Regions from separate parts of the Homo sapiens genome. Here region 2 is linked to region 1. Evidence: promoter capture Hi-C in 16 types of primary human blood cells and fetal thymus (Javierre and others, 2016). All regions are on one chromosome and are shown on one strand. Each heading gives the region's core, a stretch centred on a gene start or on the middle of the fragment in contact. The rest is flanking DNA. Distances are from core to core; before and after follow the strand shown. Region 1 holds the start of ZNF230 (zinc finger protein 230). Region 2 overlaps ZNF180 (zinc finger protein 180).

The links. Contacts are between HindIII fragments. The CHiCAGO score rates a contact against its expected background, and 5 or more counts as called.
Region 2: a contact is called between a fragment that was not itself captured here and the fragment with the promoter of ZNF230 in region 1, in 4 of 17 cell types (naive CD8 T cells, total CD8 T cells, total CD4 T cells and 1 more). The highest score is 9.1, in naive CD8 T cells.

Annotation. Positions count from the first base shown.
Region 1 is chr19:43,999,017-44,005,637 of GRCh38, forward strand. It overlaps ZNF230 (zinc finger protein 230), which reads left to right and starts at 3,941. Exons shown (of 5, transcript NM_006300.4): 1 at 3,941-4,091. ZNF230-DT (ZNF230 divergent transcript) reads right to left here and starts at 3,854. Exons shown (of 3, transcript NR_110727.1): 1 at 3,249-3,854; 2 at 1-216. RefSeq lists an enhancer at 3,704-4,213. The HindIII fragment of the contact is 6,099 bases long and covers 1-4,134 here.
Region 2 is chr19:44,474,755-44,481,375 of GRCh38, forward strand. It overlaps ZNF180 (zinc finger protein 180), which reads right to left. Exons shown (of 5, transcript NM_001278509.3): 4 at 4,529-4,655; 5 at 1-3,392. The coding sequence ends at 1,648. Among named protein-coding and RNA genes, the nearest start is that of ZNF180, 22 kb to the right of the region's middle. RefSeq lists a silencer at 2,424-2,624. The HindIII fragment of the contact is 5,031 bases long and covers 1,720-6,621 here.

The DNA of each region.
Region 1 (6,621 bases), core at 2,691-5,190:
GCCTCAAGTCTTCAACTTCAGAATGTCCACATTGGAGAGAAGCCTCAGTAATGTGTGTAATAAAGTCTTTACTCAGTTTTCATGACTACAGTCTCACCTAAGCATTCACAAAGGGGAGAAACATTAAAATATGAGGCACATAGAAAGCAGTTCCTTTTGAGTTTGTATCTTGTAATTTATCACAGAATCCATGCTGATGATACATTTCATCCAGTCCTGTAGGAGAAAAAACATTTAAGTTAAAGCCTGTTTCAGCCATAGCTCAGCATACCCCAGTGGTCCTGGGACTGTCACAGTGGAGAACCCTTGTAAGTTGTGCAGTAGGGCTTCAAACAAAAGTTTGACAGTTACAGTTATTCAGGAGACAGACCTTAAGAGTTCATTCATGCATTTACAAAACGAATCATGAACATATCAAAGTTGATTACCACTAGAATGTCAGTGACATGTGTTTTCTGCTGCATCTTCACAACTTTAACACTGATTATCACTTTGTGTTCACTATGTGTTAAATGAATTAAAAGGAGCAAACGCGATGTTTTTAAATTGTATCTAAGAGAGGAAATCTACAAATAATTCAGGGACACCTGAGTTGAAATGCAGAGTACACTAAATACTGCAGTTCACAGCATTATTTTGATAATATCTGTTCACACTTGGTTCCTGTCTTCCCCTCCTCCTCTATTCCGAAGTTGCATTCTTAGTATTTGTGGCTTTGTGTAGTGTTCCATTGGTTGAATACAATATAAATTCAACAATAATTTGTAATTTTTCTCACACTACAGGCTGAAAACGTTGTAATAAATTCAATAAAACATCTTAATAAATTCAAAAGTTTAATACCATAAAAGTCTTTTCCAATTATAATCTAGATCACAAAAGCTGAAATTCAATCACATCATGAAAAGTGGAAAATTCACAAGTATGTGGAAACTAAACACACTCTTTATATATATATGTGTATATATATGTATGTATATATATGTATATGTATGTGTATATATATGTATGTATATATATGTATATATGTATGTGTGTGTGTATATATATATATATATATATATATATATATATATATATATACCCACCCTGTGTCCAAGTGTTCTCATTGTTCAATTCCCACCTATGAGTGAGAACATGCGGTGTTTGGTTTTCTGTCCTTGTGATAGTTTGCTCAGAATGATGGTTTCCAGCTTCATCCATGTCCATACAAAGGACATGAACCCATCTTTTTTAATGGCTGCATAGTATTCCATGGTGTATATGTGCCACATTTTCTTAATCCAGTCTATCATTGGTGGACATTTGGGTTGGTTCCAAGTCTTTGCTATTGTGAATAGTGCCACAATAAACATACGTGTGCATGCAGCACACTCTTAAATAATATGTCAGAGTACATCAGGAGTGAAATTAGGAAATACCTTAGACAACTGAAAATGAAAACAATGGCCAAAACTTTTGGAATGAGGCAAAAGCAGTAGGAGGAGGGAAATTTATATCTGTAAATGCTTATATTAAAGAAGAAAGATCTGACATCCACAGCCTAATTTTATTTTCATGAACTAGAAAAGGAGAATCTTACAGAAAGTGATTAGGAGGGAAATAATAAAGATTAAAGTATTAATAAATAAAATACAGAAGAAGAATACAAAGAAAATCAACCAAACCAAGAGTTGATTATTCTGAAAGACTAACAAAATTGTGAAAACTTTAGCAGGACTGACTAAAAAAGACTCAAGTAACTAAAAGTGGGGACATTATTACCCATTTTTACAGAGGTGAGCCACAGCGCCCAGCTTCATTTTTGTATAAGGTGTAAGGAAGGGGACCAGTTTCAATCTTCTGCATATGGCTAGCCAGTTATCCCAGCAGCACTTATTGAATAGGGAGTCCTTTCCCTGTTGTTTTTGTCAGTGTCATCAATGGCATGGTTTGGATGTGTCCCCACCCAAATCTCAGCTTGAATTGTATCTCCCAGAATTCCCACATGTGGGAGGGACACCACAGAAAGTCAGAATTATTAATTAAAAGGGAAACAGAACTAAGAATTTTAAAAATTCACAGCCTATCTACTTTGGAAAAAAAAATTAGAAAACCTGTTCTGGATAAAACAACGGTAGAGATAAGCAACTGATTTAGGAGATTAGTTTGGATTGGTCATGTCAACAGAAGCCAGGACCTGCTGTCCATTAACACTGGAAGAATGACCCCAAAGGCATCTAGGAGATCATAGAGGCTGCTCCTCCCAACACAGACCCAGAGTGCACGGACCTGGGAAGCAGAAGGGACCTTTGATGCCAAGTGCCCCTAACCTTTTAGGCTCAGTTCCCTGCATGCTACGATTGAGTGTGTCAATACATCTTATCTTTCGGGAAGGCAGAGTAGATCAAGGATACAGCTATAACTGGCATATGAATAGTGATCACTCAATTTTCAGAGAGCGGATGTTTGGCATCAAAAGTTTGGCACAGTCACCTTATTTTTGTGTCTAAACAAAATTTTGAAAAGTTTTTAGTTTAGAAAAATAGGTAAACAGTAGACTCCATTTTTTTTAAAAAGAAGAATATTGGTTTATAGGCCAATGTATGTTTATAGGGAGAAAAAAAGTTACCTTCAAAAGAGCAGGTTTTTAGATGAATTGTTTCCTAATTTAGCTTTATACTGTTATTATTTTTTAACCAATGCCAGTTTTTAAATTGCTAACTATAATAAAGAAATTATGTTTCACCAAGAAATAAGAAGAAACTTAAAAAAAAAAATCTTTAATTATTGAGGTATCTGTTGCCTAGGCTGGAGGGCAGTGGTGGCATCATAGCTCACTGCAGCCTCAATCAAACTCCTGGGCTTCAGCAATCCTCCCACCTCAGCCTCCTGAGTACTTGGAACTTGTAGTCCCAAGATCAGGCCACCATGCCTGGCCAGTTAAAAAAAAATTTTTATAGAGACGAAGTCTCCCTGTATTTCCCTGTCTGGTCTCCAATTCCTGAGCTCAAGGGAACGTCCTGCCCTGGCCTCCCAAAGGGTTGGCATTACAGGTTTGAGCCACTGCGCTTGGCCAGGAAGAAAACTCTTTATAAGACATGCTCCTTCACCTATAGAATCCTCCCGTTTTACTGCATTTACAATCTCAATGTAAGATTGATACCAATGCCTAGCTCTTCATCAGTCATTATTGCTCTGAGGTACTGAGCAATTCACTACATTCGCTGAAATTTGATGTTTCTACATCTAAGGAGAAATATGAATACCATGAAAAGTTTATGGGAAGATAGCTATTCCATGACGACACCGCTTCTCCACTAGTAGCTGTGATCTTAAATGGGGGTGGCTTTTCCTGCCAAACCAGTGGTCCCACAGCTTCTGGAGTAGGGGCTGGTGTCTTCCTGCTCCTCATTGCCCCTGCCAAACCATTCCACCTGGCTCATCCTTTAAACCGTTAGTTTTAACCTCCCATCGTCAGATTATCCTAATCCTTGAAGATTTTATCTCCTCGTTTGTTCTCTTCCCAATAACACTCCTGTCATCGTGGGAGGCGTTTAGACTTCAGGAATTCCTGTCTATACACTATTTTCGCTCAAAGACTCAGGAAGAGAGACGGACGACTCACAGGGTCACAGTCCACATTCCCCACCAGGCGCTCAGAGATATGGAATACGTTCCCGGTGGGCACTGCGGTGTGTGTAGTCAAGGACCACCGCGGAGTCCAACGCTTCCCGCTGAAGAGTGAGATTATAGACATTTTCCTTTGGCATTGGAGGAAGCGGAGTCCAGACACACTCTGAGTCGCGGGCAAGTTGGCTCAGGCGGGTGGACGAGTGAATTCTGGGAACTGTAGTCCATCAACTTCATGGAATGGCGGACCCTTTGGCTCAAGCAGTTGAACCGGGGAATTCTGGGAAGTGGAGTCCAGACGCTCTGTGGAGACGCGAGCACTTCCGGTGTGTGAGCCTGCGGTTGCTACATAACCGCGTAGTTTGAGCCATTTCTGCGTCTGGCGGGTCCTTCTGAACTTGTCACCTTCGCTTGGGGTCGCAACGACCCGATGATCGATGATCCAAGCAAGGGAAAAGAAGCCTTGGCGGAGAGCGGAGGTTTGGTGGGGGCGGGGAATGGGGTTTTTTTCCCGTCCACGGAAGCTTTCTGGGATGGGGGTGCTGTGCTCGCATCCCGGGGGTTGGAATTGGCGGGGTCCTCTGTGCCCTGCTGTGAGCGTTTCCAGGACTTTGACCTCGCTCAGCCTGCCTCTCTCCACCCTACCTGTGCGACCGCTTTCTCGCAGTGTGACGTGGAGTGTTACTCAATGTCCTTATACTTTCCATTGCTGTTTTTGGTAATGGGGACATTAGAACCATCCTAGTAGAATCGTTTTTGGGAACTGAAAGAGATAACGCAAATGAGAACCTTAAAGCAGTCCCTGTCACTTGGTGACTGGTGGTCTCTTGTTAACTTCCCGAAGAGGTCAGGTCCCCGGGTGGAGTCATAGCTTCAGCTGCAGGGGCCCTGGTCCTTCTCCCTAATCCCTGCAGGACGCTGGATGATCCCGGGAGGCCTTCTGACCTCTTTTTAGGAAAGCGAGTTGCGTCCGCTTCCACGAAGGGCGGGGAGCATTTAACTTTTATGGGGGACCGCGATGCAGTCAGGGTATTTCACAACTTTCGCCTTCCCCAGCCTGACCTTTCTAAAAGAGCTGCAGGGAGGGGACTTCTTGGCTACTGAGGGCAAATCTCTATGTGATTGGTCCTTGGCTTTTTTCCTTTATAGAGATGTTCACCCAACCGAGAGTGTGTCCTCGGGAATGGGTGTTGATAATCATTAAGCCGTAATTGGTAACTTCATTCTAAGTGCTTTATACAAATAAATTTAGGCCACACTGTGGCTCTGTGAAGTATTGCTTTTCTTTGTTTTAAAAATGAGAGTGAGACACAGGGTGCATAGCAGCCAACTAGTGAGAGGTAGAGCTGGGGTTGGCACCTAGGCAGTCCAGGTCAGAGCCTGAGTTGATCACCTCTTGGATACATTCTCATTGAGGCAGAGGAACTAGCTGGACTCGTAGGGAAAGCAAGTTAGGACCTGATTGAAAGGACGTTGAGAGCAAGGCTCGTGGGCTTGGACGTCTAGGAATTTTTAAAAATTTCTCAACTATTTTGTTTCATGTTTTCCAAGTATTTCGTACTGTTGTGGAACTGTATCATTGTGGAAAAGTCTGAAATAGGAGAAATGAGAGTAGAAAAAGTTTTTTAATTACCCATGTATCCAAGATGTAAAGGTAGTAACTGTTAAGCTTCTAATTGATTTCTTTTGTCTTTCTTTGTGTCTACTTCTATATTTGTTGATAAACATTTTTTTAAAAATTGTTATATTTTAATGTGTTTTCCCATATGTCTTTTAACTATAGAAAATTTTAAATATTGCTAATAGAGACTAAACTAGTGAGGCTGGTTGTGGTGGCTCATGCCTATAATCCCAGCACTTTGGGAGGCCAAGGCAGGTGGATCACTTGAGGTCAGTAGTTTGAGACCAGCCTGGCCAACATGGTGAAACCCCATCTCTACCAAAAATACAAATATTAGCCGGGCGTGATGGCACGTGCCTGTAGTCCCAGCTACTCTAGAGGCTGAGGCAGGAGAATTGCTTAAACCCGGGAGGTGGAGGTTGCAGTGAGCCAAGATCACGCCACTGCACTCCAGCCTGGGCAACAGAGTGAGACTCAAAAAAAAAAAAAAAAAAAAGAATAAACTAGTGAACTGCCATATTATATAATGCTCAATTTTATTATTCCCATTATCCTTATGACTATTTCCTGATATCTAAAATATTTTTGCTGGGCGCGGTGGCTCACGCCTGTAATCCCAGCACTTTGGGAGGCCGAGGCGGGTGGATCACGAGGTCAGGAGATCGAGACCATCCTGGCCAACATGGTGAAACCCCATCTCTACTAAAAAAAAAAATACAAAAAATTAGCTGGGCATGGTGGCAGGCAGTTGTGGTCCCAGCTACTCCAGAGGCTGAGGCAGGAGAAAGGCGTGAGCCCGGGAGGCGGAGCTTGCAGTGAGCGAGATCGCGCCACTGCACTCCAGCCTGGGCTAGGGAGCGAGACTCTGTCTCAAAAAAAAAAAAATTAAAAACTAAAAACAAAATAAAATATTTTCATCTTTATATCATTTAAAAGCTATAGAAAAGTTGCAAAAATAGTATAAGGAGTTCTCATACTCTATCCAAATTTGCCAATTGTTTACATTTTTCCTGGTTGCTTTGTTGATGACCATCAGCCAAATACCACCAGGAACATAACTAACCAGAGACAGCTGATTATGGCTTTCTGCAGCAAGGAAGCCCACATACCATGGTAAATGTGGGGTGTGTTGGTAAGAGGTATTTAAGAAGGGATGGTATAGGGTTTCACATAACATGCTAGATAATATTAGATATTAAATAATATTGTTATCTATTACATATCAGATCTGTTAAAAGACTACTAGTAGTTGTAGTGTTACTCATTAGATAGTGTTGAATAGCATATTACCTAACATCCTGTTATCTAATCTGTAGTTACATATTTAAATTTGTTCAGTTTTTCATTTAAAGTCCTATGCCAGGCACAGTGGCTCATGCCTGTAATCC
Region 2 (6,621 bases), core at 2,985-5,484, 480 kb after region 1:
CACATCCTTCCCAAGAGATACTGAACCTCTTTCAGACTCATTGAGGGTTCTTCAAAGTGTGGGTCAGTGGTCCCCAAGGGATGCCCGCAGCTTTCAGTATTTCACACTCCATGAAAACATCAGCAACTGTTTTCCCAGACCTGACACTGCCAGGTGTGCAACAATCTCTGGATTAATCCTCATAGAGATGGCTCCACTTAGGGTCATCTCATAGGGATAGAATTTTGCTAAGGATAACCCCATCAGTTACCCTTTAAGTTTTCTTTCCTATCCCAAGGGTATTAACCTCTATTATCTGGTCTCTCAGTTCAACTTTCAGCTTATTACCTTTCTGGGATCAGAGGCTTCAATATATGGTCATCCACAGGATTCAAATTCATGATTCAAGGGAAAGGTCAGAAAGACATGTTAATCAAATCTTAAATATCAAAGAGTAACTAAAACTTTGCCTCATGAAAGCATTTTTGCAAGCATAATTTAGACGGTCAGCACTGAGCCAGGGAAGCACCCTTCTATTCAGAGGACTCTCACATCAGGGAACATATCCCAGAGGAAAGAGACAATGCTACATGAGGGGAAGAACTAAAACATGAAAATAGAGTTCCTTAATATTGCTTTGCATATATGAAAATAAGCCCACTTGCCCTCTATACTTCCCACGCATTCTCAGTTCTTCATATGAAACCATTTCTGGCCAAAATTTCTAGTTACCTATTTCCAGGAATCCATTTTATTTTCAATGAGGAATGTTCCTAGGAATCTATGTCCTAAGTAGTAATCTGCTCATGCTATTCCAAACATAAACCTCATTATCCTGAGGGATCTTTGCTATTTGGTTGCTTAGTCTTTCCTAAATAGTCAAAGAAGGAAATCTTTGTATTTCATTTTTGGCTTTGAATAATTTTTACTCATTATATCATTTATCATAGCATAACAGCGTACATTCCAAAAAGGAAGGCCCAACATAAACTGAGAAATTGAATAGATACATCCATAATCCCTTTCTATTCTAATCCATACACAAATATTTTATCATAATGGTTTTAGAAGTGAATATTATTTCTATATTCTTTTCCCACACTTTTCACTATATATCATAGACACTTTCCTAAAATTTATAAAATCTTCACATGTAACAACAGCAAGTGCTGTAAGGAACAGATTACAAGCTATCTAATTGGAAGATCATGTAGTAAAATGATGCACTAAAATATGGTTTTCCAGCCTAAGTTCTAAACACTACAGCAACCTTTAAATTTTCTCAATAAGCCCACTAGTGTTAGCATTCCATTTACTCTTTATGGAAAAAGAGGTCTAACACTGGCAGTTGGCTTTGGCATATGATTTTCTCTGATTCAGGTCTGAGTGCTTTCTGCAAGGAAAAGTGCCAGTATTTATTATTTTCATAGGAATATGTCATAAGAATCAAGTTTAACATTGTATATGGAATTGCCAGGTTGAAAAGTCGTTCATAGACTTTCCCCCTTTCTTTTCCAGAACAAATTTGAGACACACAATTAACAGAGGGCTGGAAGTTTTCCCACATATATTGTTTTTATAGTAGTTCTTCCAACTACATGTACTACCTTAAAATAAATTTTTTAAAAGAATGAAATAAAAAGGAAGAAATCCCAGCTGATTTACAAACTAGTTACATTCATAGAGTTTCTCTTCAGTATGAGTTGCCTGATGCCTAATAAGTTTATAGCTATTAATGAAAGCTTTTCCACACTGAATACATGTAAAGGGTTTCTCTCCAGTATGAGTTCTTTGATGCACAATAAGTCGAGCACTCAAGCTAAATGTTTTTCCACACTGATTACATTCAAATGGTTTCTCTCCAGTATGAGTTCTCTGATGTTGAGTAAGGCATGAACTCTGTCTGAAGGACTTCCCACATTGACTGCATTCATAGGGCTTTTCTCCAGTATGAGTTCTCTGATGTACAACAAGAACATAACTCTGGCTGAAGGATTTCCCACACTGATTACATTCATACGGTTTTTCCCCAGTGTGAATTCTCTGATGCATAACAAGGTGAGAACTGCGGTTAAAAGATTTTCCACATTCACTACATTCATACGGTTTCTCTCCAGTGTGAGTTCTTTGATGTGCAACAAGCTGAGAGCTCCAGCTGAAGGATTTCCCACACTGATTACATTCAAAGGGTTTTTCTCCTGTGTGAGTTCTCTGATGAGCAACAAGTTTATAACTTTGACTAAAGGATTTCCCACACTGATTGCATTCATAGGGTTTTTCCCCAGTATGAATTCTTTGATGTGCAATAAGTTTATAGCTCTGGATAAATGATTTCCCACATTGATTACATTCATAGGGCTTCTCTCCGGTATGTGTTCTTTGATGTGCAATAAGTTTATAGCTCTGCCTGAATGACTTTCCACACTGATTGCATTCATAAGGCTTCTCCCCAGTATGAGTTCTTTGATGCACAACAAGGACATAACTCTGGCTAAAGGATTTCCCACATTGATTACACCTGTAAGGTTTCTCTCCAGTATGAGTTCTCTGATGGGAAACAAGGTGCGAGCTCCGGCTGAAGGATTTTCCACATTCACTACATTCATAAGGTTTCTCCCCTGTGTGAGTTCTCTGATGTGCAACAAGATGCGAGCTCCAGCTGAAGGATTTCCCACACTGATTACATTCAAAAGGTTTCTCTTCAGAATTATTTCTCATGTTTTGAGTAAGGGAGGAACTATGAGAGGTTTCACTACATTTATATTGACTCTCTTCAAAAGGAATTCTCTGTTGTTCATTATGGGATATTTTGGGGTTCAAAACCTGCCCACATTCTTTAAAATCAAAGGTTTTTCCTCCTCCATGAATTTTTTCATGTATATGTAGGGGTGTACCATGGCAAAAAGATTGAATACGGTCACTAAATCCATAGGATTTATCTTTTGTTTGAGTTCTTGTAAACTGAATAAGGTGAATGCTCTGAGGGGGTTTTCCACATTCATTATTTTCATATAGTGTCTCATTCTCATTAATCTTCTGATGACTGTTTACAGCAGCATTAAGATGCCATTTTTTAGCATGTGATACATGTTTATGAAAATGGTTTCTTATGGGTATAACTGGGGATGAAAATAGACTGGAATTCAGACCACTCTTCTCCCCAGTTTCATCACTTTTGCAGACTCTCTCATGAATAACTGCTTTCCTTTGAGTGAATGCCACTTCCTGCAAAAGTATCTCTTGTTTTTCCTGTTGCTTCTCCAACTGGTCTTTACAATCATCCACTTCTTCACATGAAGATAACCAAGGATCATCCCTTGTAAACCTTTCTATCTTCACTCCATTAGCTGGTTCTTCATCAAAAATCCTCTGCTTTGAAGTTGAATCTTTTTTTCCAACTGCAGTTGCCAAGTCTGAAAGAAAGCAATATAAGACATCTTAGTCAAAAAATATTAGAGATGGAAAAATGGAATAAAGCTAACAAGAAAGTATGAAAAATATATATGAATTTGTTTTCAAATACTGACCGATAACCTAGGTTGAAAAAGCAAAAGGGTGAGATAAAGTATTAAGTACAGAACTACCACAGCCCAATATTACAACAGAGCATTAAAATGGAACTATTGTAATCTTGGTTTAATCTTAGTCTGAATAAATAAGACTCTGGATGTCAAATACCTGCATATTCCAAAATAAGATCATCTACATAGAACCTACAGAATTGCAACCCAATTTTGCAATATGTATAGAGAGTCTTTTCCACTCTTTAGTGCTACACAGATGTTCACTAAGAGATTAGTGTCTACATATCCAGGAATTTCTGAAGGCATAAAACTTGCTAAATACTCTACTCTGTGTCAGTGAGGCATGAGGAAACTATGTTTGTGAACAAAAGAAAAGGAATGGGGCATTATTATCCAGTTCCCTAACTACCTTAGGAACCAATAAAGCCCCACAAATTTCTGTGATTCCAACTGAGAGAGACTAGAAGTTTGCTCCTAGTAGCCTGGGTGGCTACTAGGTCAAGCAATAGAGAGTATATATGGAAAAAGTAGTCATGTATACAGTCCACCAGGAGGTGGGAAATGAAGAAAAAATGTGGCATCTTCTATGCGGATTTTTTCAAATGGACCTTCTACACCTGTAATGACCCCTATGTGTCTGGTTCTCACTTGAACACATGTATTGGAAAATTCTTTTTATATTCTTTCCCTTGCTCCAACTAGGAGATTGTATCTGCTTCAAAAAGCTGACAAGGAAAGATACAGGAATTTGAGTTTTCAAAGCTGGGGACAAAAGAAAATTACTGCAGAATCTGGTCCTGGCCTTTGGTCTTTAGGAACATGAAGACTGAAAATCTCAAGCCCAAGAATCTGCACTATTTCTACCCTACAAACTAAAATTAATCTTCACTGGGGAATAAAGAGCACAAACACAATCTAGATGCAGCCAAAATCATTCTGGCTGCTGAATTTCACAGTTCTTAATCGATCAGAATGTGAAATCATTTCAGTAGATGGATCTTCATTAAAGAGGAGTGTATTCTTACCCCAAGAGACTAGGTCCCTGTGGTTCTCCAGGATCACATCTCTGTCCAGGGTCCTCTGAGCAGGGTTGCAAGTACCCTGTTCCTCCCGTGTGAAGTCCACAGTCACAATTTTGAAGTTCACTCCTTCCTAAAAAAGGACACACATTCCTGCTCAGCTGGGCATCATTTCCTTCCAAAGTTCATGGAGGAGGAAAAGTCTGACAGATGGAAAAAGGAAAATTGGTGACCTGGGAGTTGTCCTTAAATTGTCAGTGCCCAAAAGATTCCAGTCAAGATGTACAGGTGCCTTCTGGGTGAGCTCTTTGGGTTTTGGATGCTGGACCTGTTTTTACAACTCCAAAGAGGAATACCAGATAAGAACTGATATAAACTATTTTATTTTGTCTGCCTTAAAAAGGATGCTTATTCTGACTTTTGCACTGGTGAATATAGAATTCCCACTTAGGAATTCCCTCTAAATTCCCAAGAAATTAATGAAACAGGGGTGGTTGATTTTTTTCTGTCAAAGGCCAGATAGTAAATATTTCACACTTTGCCAGCCATACAGTCTCTATCACACTACTCAACTCTGCTGCTATAGCAAGAAATTAGCCACAGAAAATATATAAACAAATGGGTGTGGCTACATTACAATAGATCTTTATTTACAAAAACAGCCACAGGCTGTACTTTGCTAATGCATGAGACAGAAAATGAAATGTGGACCTCGATGAAAAGCAGTATGTATAGGTGAAGAACACTGGATGTAGAAGATACAAAGACTTGGCTTTCTCACCTATAAAGGGCATATATCTGCTTAAGAAATACATCTAATCTGACAATCTGTCCTTTTTTTTTCTTTTGAGACAAGACCTCACTCTGTTGCCCAGGCTGGAGTACAGTGGCACAATCATGGCTCACTGCAGCCTCCATCTTCTGGGCTCAAGTGATCCTCCCACCTAGTCTCCCAAGTAGCTGGGACTACAGGTGTGCATCACCGTGCTTGGCTAATTTTTAAAATTTTGTAGAGACAGACCCTCAATATATTGCTTAGGCTGGTCTCAGACTCCTGTGTTCAAGGAATCTTCCCATCTCAGACTCCCACAGTGCTGGAATTACAGGGATGAGCCACCACACCTGACCCAATTGTCTTTCCCTGGCGAGTTTATTCCATTTCTATTTATTAGGCCTAATAATACCTAAATCATTGGGTTGAATGAATAATTACGATGATCTATGAAAAGCCACTAGCAGAGTTTACTGATGAAACAACGAAGGCCAGCAATTACAGGCTGAGTATCCCATAGCTAAAATACTTAGGACTGGAAGAATTTTGGATTTCAGATTTTGAAATATTTGCATTTACATGAGATGCCTTGAAGATGGGATCCAAGTCTAAACACAAATTCATTTATGTTTCATATACACCTTAAACATATAGCCTAATGGTAATTTTATGCAATTTTTAAAAAAATTTTGTGTATGAAACAGTTTTGACTGTTTTGACTATGAGTGGTCGCATGAGGTCAAGTGTAGAATTTTCCACTTGTGGCATTATGCTGGGGCTCCAAAACCTTCCAATTTTGGACAATTTCAGATTTTTGGATTAGGGGTGCTTAGCCTGTACTGTTATGATTAGTAGGTCTCAGGATCCTCAAAGATTAACTGAGAGCCAAAGTGACCTTTATTCTGAACTCTCAGTCTTCAAATAACAGTTCTGTTTCTATCCATATCCAGCTGCATGGCAGAGCCTTTTAGGAGACGTTTGCTGTTATTACTGCCATATAAATGGGGTCTCTTGGGCTGCCTCCTCTAAGCAGGAAAGGGCCTGTTCTTAAGATAACTGGGCAGGAATTTTAATCCAAAAGAGAAGTGCTAAGGGTGATCTGTCCTTACCCAGGCACAGCAAAGGCAAGGGGAAGTCGAATGCCTCTTGCCACTAAAGGCTCTTTAAATAGACCAGGCATTCTTGAGCTGCAGTTCATGAATAGGATACAGGGTCCTGAATGCCATGAAAGCACATGCAAAATACTGCTGTATATGCCTCTAAGTTTGAGCCTAAAAATTTCACTGAAACCTCAAATGTTTTCATGATTAGCCCAACGTGAAATTCA